Linked DNA regions of Homo sapiens: all the other regions are linked to region 1. The links are contacts of gene promoters, found by promoter capture Hi-C in blood cells and fetal thymus (Javierre and others, 2016). All regions are on one chromosome and are shown on one strand. Each heading gives the region's core, a stretch centred on a gene start or on the middle of the fragment in contact. The rest is flanking DNA. Distances are from core to core; before and after follow the strand shown.

Region 1 (2,824 bases), core at 228-2,727:
GGAAGTTGTAGATTTCATTCAATCAAAGATCAGCCAGCGTGATGAAAATGGGGAGCTTCGGTTATTGTCATCCATTGTGGAAGAGGTGAGTACCAGGGTGGAGAAGAGAGGGTGTCTGGTCTGCACAGCCAGGGTTCACTCTTTTAATCTGAGCTAAGTCGGCAATCTGGGAGCATTATCAGTAATTGCTGACAGACGCTAAACCCCGACTCCAAAGTTCCACCTTCTGTCATTTCCCTGACTTAGCCTTATGCCTTATGGACTAGCAGGTGGGCCGTTGTGTGATACCTCTTGCCCATTCCTCTCCTACCACCCTGACTCAGCAAGCCAGCCCTCTTGTGGGACTGTAGATTCCTGGCAAGGTGTTCAAACCCTGTGGCTGAGCTACCCCCATCCCTTTCTTAGCTGCTGGATCAGTGCCTGGCACCAGACACTTCTGGGGATGGTACAGGGTGTGACAACATGACCTGCATCATCATTTGCTTCAAGCCCCGAAACACAGCAGAGCTCCAGCCAGAGAGTGGCAAGCGAAAACTAGAGGAGGTGCTCTCTACTGAGGGGGCTGAAGAAAATGGCAACAGCGACAAGAAGAAGAAGGCCAAGCGAGACTAGCAGTCATCCAGACCCCTGCCCACCTAGACTGTTTTCTGAGCCCTCCGGACCTGAGACTGAGTTTTGTCTTTTTCCTTTAGCCTTAGCAGTGGGTATGAGGTGTGCAGGGGGAGCTGGGTGGCTTCACTCCGCCCATTCCAAAGAGGGCTCTCCCTCCACACTGCAGCCGGGAGCCTCTGCTGTCCTTCCCAGCCGCCTCTGCTCCTCGGGCTCATCACCGGTTCTGTGCCTGTGCTCTGTTGTGTTGGAGGGAAGGACTGGCGGTTCTGGTTTTTACTCTGTGAACTTTATTTAAGGACATTCTTTTTTATTGGCGGCTCCATGGCCCTCGGCCGCTTGCACCCGCTCTCTGTTGTACACTTTCAATCAACACTTTTTCAGACTAAAGGCCAAAACCTAATCGTACGCATCGTGTCCTTTTTTTTCTGCTGCCGTGGCCCCCGACTTGGTCCCATCTGTAGCATGTGGCGAGCCCCCATGTGAGTGTGTGCGTGTGCTCGTGTGTGTCCTGCGCGTGTATAGGAGAGCCCAGAGCGAGCTGCTGGTAGGCCGGCCTGGCGGGCGTCGCGGCTGCCCCTCGCCCCCTCCTGCAGCCAGAAATGATCTAGTTCCCCCAGGGACAGGTTGGGACCGGTCTGGCTGGCCTGAAGCCTGGAGTCGGGCAGGACGCCTCCTGCGCTGCTCCCTGGCCGGCTCCCCGCTGCCGCTGATTGGCTTGCTCCCCGCCTCGTCACAATCACTTCCCGGTCACGCCATTGAGGCTCCCGCCGCGGCCGCTTCCCACGGACTACGCGTCCCGTGCGTCTCTGCGGCGGCGGAAGCGGAAGCGAGTACGGAGGTACCAGCTGGTCTCCGTAGGGGGGTAGGGGGCTCCATGAATGGAAGCGGCGGCGGCGGCGGGAGCGGCCTGAGCTGGGCGCCGGGGCCAGGGCCGGGGGCTGCCCAGGGCCCGCGCCGCTGCATGGGGGCGGCCCGCGGGCCCTGAGAGGAAGGGCAGACAGGCGGGCCGAGATAGGAGGGGCGGGGTCGGGCGGCCGCAGGCCGGAGGCGCGTCGGGCTGGAGCCGGTCACGATGCCCCGAAGGAAGCAAAGCCACCCGCAGCCCGTGAAATGCGAGGGGGTCAAAGGTCAGGGGTCAGGGGCCTTGAGGGGAGAGGAGCGGGGGTGGGGTCAGTGGAGTGGGCTCAGGTCAGGGTGGAGGGGGACTCCTGAGGGATGAAGTGGGCGATCCAGACTCCTAGCTTCCCACCGAGGCACTAAGGGAATCAGAGTGGGTCAGCGAGTACGGGAAGTGTGGTCCACGAGGGCTGGTTCCTGAGGGAGAATCCACAAGCCCCCTCCCCTCTTCAGTGGATACTGAAGACTCCCTCGACGAAGGACCCGGGGCCCTGGTATTGGAGAGTGATTTGCTACTAGGCCAGGATCTGGAGTTTGAGGAGGAAGAGGAAGAGGAGGAAGGCGACGGCAACAGTGACCAGCTCATGGGCTTCGAGAGAGACTCGGAAGGTGGGTTTTCGGGTCTTGGTTAAGGATTAGCGGCCGCTGGAGACCCCAGCCCTTCAGGAGGCAGGTTAGGTGAACAGAACACCATTTCCTGCCACAACCGAGGGCTGGTTTAGTTTACATTTGAGCTAGATGACTTCATTTGTTTAATGGTCCAATCACTTCCATCACTTTGTTGAGGTGAAGTTCTGAGGCCTGGTCAAAGGTGATAGGAATAGGAGGGTGGGTGAATCACATGGAGCAACTGATTAAAAGTAAATGCCCTGTCTCTCTCCCTAGCCCATTCCTTATGTGTATTTACTTTTAAGAGAGGTTCAGGGAAGCAAACTCTCTGTAAATCATTCAACCCAGTATTTAGGTCTAATCTAACTCCCTTTCACCTGCAGCGTAAGCTCCTTTTGTATTGAGAGGTTTTAGTTTCTGTCTTTATCCTTCCATGTCCCTCTTCCCTGTGATCTTAGCATCACCCTACCCTAATTTGCTGCACTACCCATCCACTTATGCAAGATGTTTTTTGAAAGTCATTGAGGGGATCCATGTAAATATCTGTTCTTTAGGCAGGCAAGTGGTATTACATGCATTACTTTCATTGTCTCCACTTCCCTCCAAATTTTGCCTCAGAGATAGGTTTTATTTTATATCAGCTCCTTACTAAAAGGGGCCTTAGCAATAGAGCTTAGAAAAAGGTCTTGGGGGCTCTCTCCCTTTC
Region 2 (2,824 bases), core at 118-2,617, 220 kb before region 1:
CTGAGGAAATTCTCGATAGTCTTCATCTTCTTCCTGCCTGGGTTTCCTTTTCCCCTTGGCTGATACTCCACCTGACCCTGAAGTACCATACAAAAACAAAACAAAAACTCAGCACACTTTGTAAATGAACATCTAGGCCTGTCTTCAAAACATCATTCACAAGACCATCAAAAGGAAAGATCATCAGTGAACACAGGCCTCAGAGAAATGTCTGTGACATTTTTAGAGAAGTTGGTGTAACTTCTCATTAACTGACCCACTCTCCCTTTCTTTTTATATTGTTATCTATTCCAAATCATCCATTGTTCCTTATGAATAATAAGGGCATTCAAGCAATGTGTTTTGCTTAATCTTGACTTGAGGCTAACAAGAGGATAAGAATTGCTCAAGATAGAGGGCTAGCCACCAAGGACCCTTGAGATTGTGACGATCCAGAATATTCTCCCCTGAATAATCCTTACACCAGCCCCTAAATCATCAACAGAGGATCACACTAGAAGAAAAGGGGGGCCAGCCATGGTGACTCACATCTGTAATCCCAGCACTTTGAGATTACAGACTTTGGCCAAAGTGGGCGGATTACCTGAGGTCAGGAGTTCAAGACCAGCCTGACCAACATGGAGAAACCCCGTCTCTGCTAAAAATACAAAATTAGCCAGGTGTGGTGGCACATGCCTGTAATCCCAGCTACTCAGCTGGCATTACAAGCTGAGGCAGGAGAATCGCTTGAACCCAGGAGAAGGAGGGTGCGGTGAGCCTGAGCTCGAGTCATTGCACTCTAGTCTGGGCAAGAAGAGTGAAACTCCGTCTCAAAAAAAAAAGAAGAAGAAAAGGGGAATTCAAATACTACAAAGAGGAAAATCAAATGCTAAATATAATCTAGAGGAGTAAGATTAGCAGAATTTCACTCTATCACATAGCAGTTCATGAAGCTAATGGGACAGGATGCAATTGCCTAACACCTTAAATTTTTTTAAATCACTAATGAGAAACAAATATGTGGCATTTCATACTCTTTTTTTTTTTTTTTTGAGACGGAGTCTCGCTCTTTCGCCCAGGCTACAGTGCAATGGTGCGATCTCTGCTCAGTGCAACCTCTGCCTCCCAGGTTCATGCCATTCTCCTGCCTCAGCCTCCTGAGTAGCTGGGACTACAGGCGCCCACCACCAGGCCCCGCTAATTTTTTGTATTTTTAGTAGAGACGGGGTTTCACCATGTTAGCCAGGATGGTCTCGATCTCCTGACCTTGTGATCCGCCCGCCTCGACCTCCCAAAGTGCTGGGATTACAGGCGTGAGCCACCACGCTCAGCCGCCATTTAATACTTTTAAGAGGTATTTATAACAATCTCAAACTATAACTTTAGGAAGTGGCCCGTCTTCAGAATAAGACACTGATATTGATACCTTCGACATGAGAAGTAGCAGCTGGCTTGATTCTTCTCATCTTCATCCAGTAGGTAGATTTTCGGAAAGATGCTGGAAAATCACTCACTGGTTCACACGAAGATGCAGACGATGAACCACTTAAGGAGTCATCATGAGGGATAGTGTACTGGAAACTATTATCCTTTATGGAGCACTGGGTCCTGCTACTAATACAACATAAAAATATATACCACAAAGGAAGGTCTGGAGCAAAATTTCTATACATTCTTTTACATTATAACCAAGTTGGTTACCTCTGCAGAAAACTAAGAAGCCTGCTATAAAAACAGAATGTAAGTTGTAATCACCTAACAATAACAATAGTTGATCTAACACAACATGTACAATTATTATCACACTTCATTGTAATAAGAGTAAGCAGTACACATAAATGATCACTTTGCAGCCCAAGTAGACATTCCTTCCTAGATTCATCTAATAAAAGAAAGTAGGTGAAGCAATAAAGGTGTTCTATGACCCTTCAGAAGACTCCCTGGATTTGTAACCTGGTATGTCCCAGCCTCTCTCTTTCTCTGACAGAGGGATGGCAACTAAAGGGTATCTCTAAGGGAAAGGAATAGTCTGTGGGCCCTAATCTGACTCATCTTCCTTCTGCCTCAGCATTCTCCCTAAAACCTGATGCCCTATCTTATTTAGGCAACATGATACTTAGCTTCCACAGCTAAAGGATGGATGCTATCTTGCATGAATTAACCTGGCCAGAGATTTCTGGTATACAGCTGAATCCAGATTCCAAAATCTAAGACCAGTCAGTATGACAGCTAAAAAACATTACTCTGTAACTACAAAGCATCAGACATTCTTCTAGGTGGCTCAAGATGCAGCAGAGCAGCAGTTCTCCAAGAGTGGTCAATGGACTCCTAGAACCTCCCTTTTCCAGCTAAATACCTGTGAGGCCTACTTTAGATTTATGGTTCAGAAAGATCCTTCTGGCTGCTCTATGGAGACAGCCCATGGGAGAAAGAGTAAACAAAAGGAAAAAAGTTAACTTGAATTGGCAGATTCAAGGTAACACTTTAGATGTAGAGCTAATAAGAATTACACATAGAGAGGTTTGCTTATGACATCAGGGAGTTGGAAGTAACACAGTGACCATCCTTGCAAAATGTGATAGATGCCTACTATGGAATACTGTGCTGCTGTTAGAAGCAATAAACTAATTCTACACATAGAGACACGACCATAACTAAAAAGTATATTGTTGAATGAAAAAAGAAACAAAACAGTATCTCTAGCACAATGTCAGTTCAGCAAGCTAAAAACAAATCCACACATAAAGCAGCTTATTTTAAAGCTTATTTTTTAAAGGAGTCATAAATATTTAAGTGCAAACATCACACTTGTTTATACAGTTTCCTCTAGGAGGGAGGGGATGGA
Region 3 (2,824 bases), core at 163-2,662, 190 kb before region 1:
ATTTCACATCTTGAGAACATGGCTCTGGTACAAATACCACAGATCTCACATTATGCTGCCTGAGGTGTGAATGGAACTCCTCAGAATTCATACCTTGCAGCTGCGGGCCAGAGTTGAACTCCTTTGGTGTTATATCTTGAAATTTTGTCCCTGGAGTCAGTTCACATTTTACATCTTGTAAATGTTGCACAGAGTTGAACACAACAGATTTTATACCTTGAAGCTCTGGCCCTGGATGCAACTCAGAAAATTTCATAACTTGAAATTTTGTCCCTGATTCTACACCTTGCAAGTGTGGCGCAAGTTTGCACTCCATAGAATCTATACATTGCAATTTTAGCCCTGGATTCAACTCAGAAGAATTCACATACTGCACCTGTGGCCCAGGGTTGCATTCCATAGGTGCTGCACGTAGAAGCTTTGACCCTGGAGTCAATTCAGATTTTAAACCTTGCAAATGTGGTATAGGGTTGAACATCATAGGTGTCTCACTTTGAATTTCTGTCCCTGGGTTCAATTCAGAACACTTCATACCTTGAAGTTTTGAAACTGGAGTTAATTCAGGCGATTTCATACCTTGTAAATACGGCCCTGGGTTGCACCCAATAGAATTTACACAGTGAGCTTTTGGCTGTGGAATGAATGCAGAATTCACACCTTGCAAATGTGGCCCAGGGATGCACCCATTAGAACTTATACACTGAAGTTTAGGTGCTGGAATGGATGCAGAATTTACACCTTGCAAAGGTAGCCCACAGTTGCTCCCAGTAGAATTTACACACTGATGTGGTGGCTCTGGAATGGATACAGAAGAATTCACATCTTGCAAATGTGGTCCAAGGCAGAACACCTTAGATTTTATACCTTGAAGCTCAGGCCCAGGATTCAACTTGGCAGATTTTGTTCCTTGCAACTGTGGTCCAGGGTTGAAATCTAAAGATTGTATACCTTGAAGCCTTGTTCCTAGGCACAACTCAGAAGATTTCACACCTTGCAACTGTTGCTGAAGATTGAATTTCATAGATTTTACATCTTGAAGCTTTGTCCCTGTGCATAATTCTGAAGATTTTCTATGTTGCAGATGTGGCTCAGGATTGAACACCATAAATTTTACACTTTGAAGGTCTGGCCATGGATTCAATTTATGAGATTTCTCATCTTGCTGCTGCTTTTCAGCATTGAACTCAGAAGGTGCCACACTATGAATCTTTGATTCCAAGGCCAACTTAGAGAGTTTTGCAACCTGCAATTCTGGGTCATGGTTGCCTTCTGTAGAGTTCACCGTCTGAAGCTTTATCAACCCAGATTTCATATCTTCCAACTTTGCCCCAGGATTATATTCTACAGATTTCACACCCTGAAGGTGTATCCCTGGTGTCAACATAGATAATTTTCTATCTTGTAACTGTGAAGTTGAGCTTAACTCCAAAGATGTCCTATCCTGTACCTTTGTACCTACAGTCAATTCAGAAGATTTCACATCTTGCCGCATTGGCCTAGGCATGAGCACAGATTTCACTTTTTGAAGCTTTGTCGCTGGGATCACTTCAGAAGATTTCATACCTTGCAAGTGTGATCCAGAACTGAACTCCATAGATTTTACATCTTGAAGCTCTGTCCCCATTATTGAGTTAGAATATTTTGTATCTTGCCACTGTGGGCCCGAGTTGAACTCCACAGATTCCCCACCTTGAAGCTTTGTCTCTGGTGTTAACTCAGAAGATGTCACACCTTGTAACTTTAGACCATGGTGGAATTCTACAGATTTAACATCTTGATGGTTTGTTCCCTGAATCAACTCAGAAGATTTTTCGCTTTGTGTCTGTTGTCCAGAATTGAAATCCATTGATTTCATACTTTGAAGCCTTGTCCCTGAGGTTACCTCAGAAGATTTTATACCTTGAAAGTGTTGTCCAGAACTGAACTTCATAGATTTTACATCTTGAAGCTTTATACCCATGATCAGATCAGAAGATTTTATATCTTGTAACTGTGGGCCTGATTCCAGCTCTACAGATTTCACACCTGGAAACTTCCTCCCCAGGGTCAAATCAGATTTCTCACTTTGTAACTTTGGACTAGGTTTGAATTCTACCGATTTCACACCCTGAAGCTTTCCCCCTGGAATCACTTCAGAAGATTTCACAGTCTGTAAGTGTGGTCCAGAACTGAAATCCATAGATTTAATGTCTTGACACTTTATACCAATGATCAACCTAGAAGATTTCAAATCTTGCAACCGTGGGCCTGAGTTGCATTCCATTAATTTCACTTCTTGAAGCTTTGTCTTCGGTATCGACTCAGAAGATTTCACTCCTTGCAACTGTGGCCCAGGTTTGAAGTCTGTAGATTTGACACCTTGAATCTTGGTCCTTGTGGTCAAATCATAATATGGGATATCTTTCAATTGTGAACTGGGGTTTAACTCTCTAAACTTCATGTCTTGGGACTTTGTCTTAGGGTTCAACTTAGAAGATTTGACACATTGCCATTGTGGCCCAGAGTTGAACTCCTCAGATTTCATACCTGGAAGTTCTGTCTGATGAGCCAATTCAGATGATTTCTTGCTTTTCAAGTGTAGTAAGGAGTTCAGCGCTACAGTTTTATCACTTTGTAATGGTAGCTCTTGGCTTAATACTCCAGATTTCACCCCTGAAAACTGTGGCACTTGTGTAAACGCTGGAGACTTCACATCTTGCAGCTGTGTTCCTGGGCATGCCTCCAAGGGTTTCACTTTGTGCAGCTGTGGTCTTGGGGTCAACTCAGAAGATTTCACATCTTGCGAGTGAAGCCCAGGTTTGAATGCCATAGATTTTATATCACA

Evidence for each region. Contacts are between HindIII fragments. The CHiCAGO score rates a contact against its expected background, and 5 or more counts as called.
Region 2: a fragment that was not itself captured here is called in contact with the fragment with the promoter of ZNF513 in region 1 in 1 of 17 cell types (erythroblasts); the score reaches 5.6 in erythroblasts.
Region 3: a fragment that was not itself captured here is called in contact with the fragment with the promoter of ZNF513 in region 1 in 1 of 17 cell types (naive B cells); the score reaches 5.5 in naive B cells.

Annotation. Positions count from the first base shown.
Region 1 is chr2:27,379,387-27,382,210 of GRCh38, reverse strand. ZNF513 (zinc finger protein 513) reads left to right here and starts at 1,477. Exons shown (of 4, transcript NM_144631.6): 1 at 1,477-1,739; 2 at 1,963-2,118. The coding sequence starts at 1,685. It overlaps PPM1G (protein phosphatase, Mg2+/Mn2+ dependent 1G), which reads left to right. Exons shown (of 10, transcript NM_177983.3): 9 at 1-85; 10 at 406-1,012. The coding sequence ends at 612. RefSeq lists a silencer at 1,505-1,724. The HindIII fragment of the contact is 8,929 bases long and covers 1-2,824 here.
Region 2 is chr2:27,596,836-27,599,659 of GRCh38, reverse strand. It overlaps ZNF512 (zinc finger protein 512), which reads right to left. Exons shown (of 14, transcript NM_032434.4): 3 at 1,406-1,593; 4 at 1-77. Among named protein-coding and RNA genes, the nearest start is that of ZNF512, 15 kb to the right of the region's middle. The HindIII fragment of the contact is 2,753 bases long and covers 1-2,743 here.
Region 3 is chr2:27,573,621-27,576,444 of GRCh38, reverse strand. It overlaps SPATA31H1 (SPATA31 subfamily H member 1), which reads right to left. Exons shown (of 5, transcript NM_032266.5): 5 at 1-2,824. Among named protein-coding and RNA genes, the nearest start is that of ZNF512, 8.0 kb to the left of the region's middle. The HindIII fragment of the contact is 237 bases long and covers 1,294-1,530 here.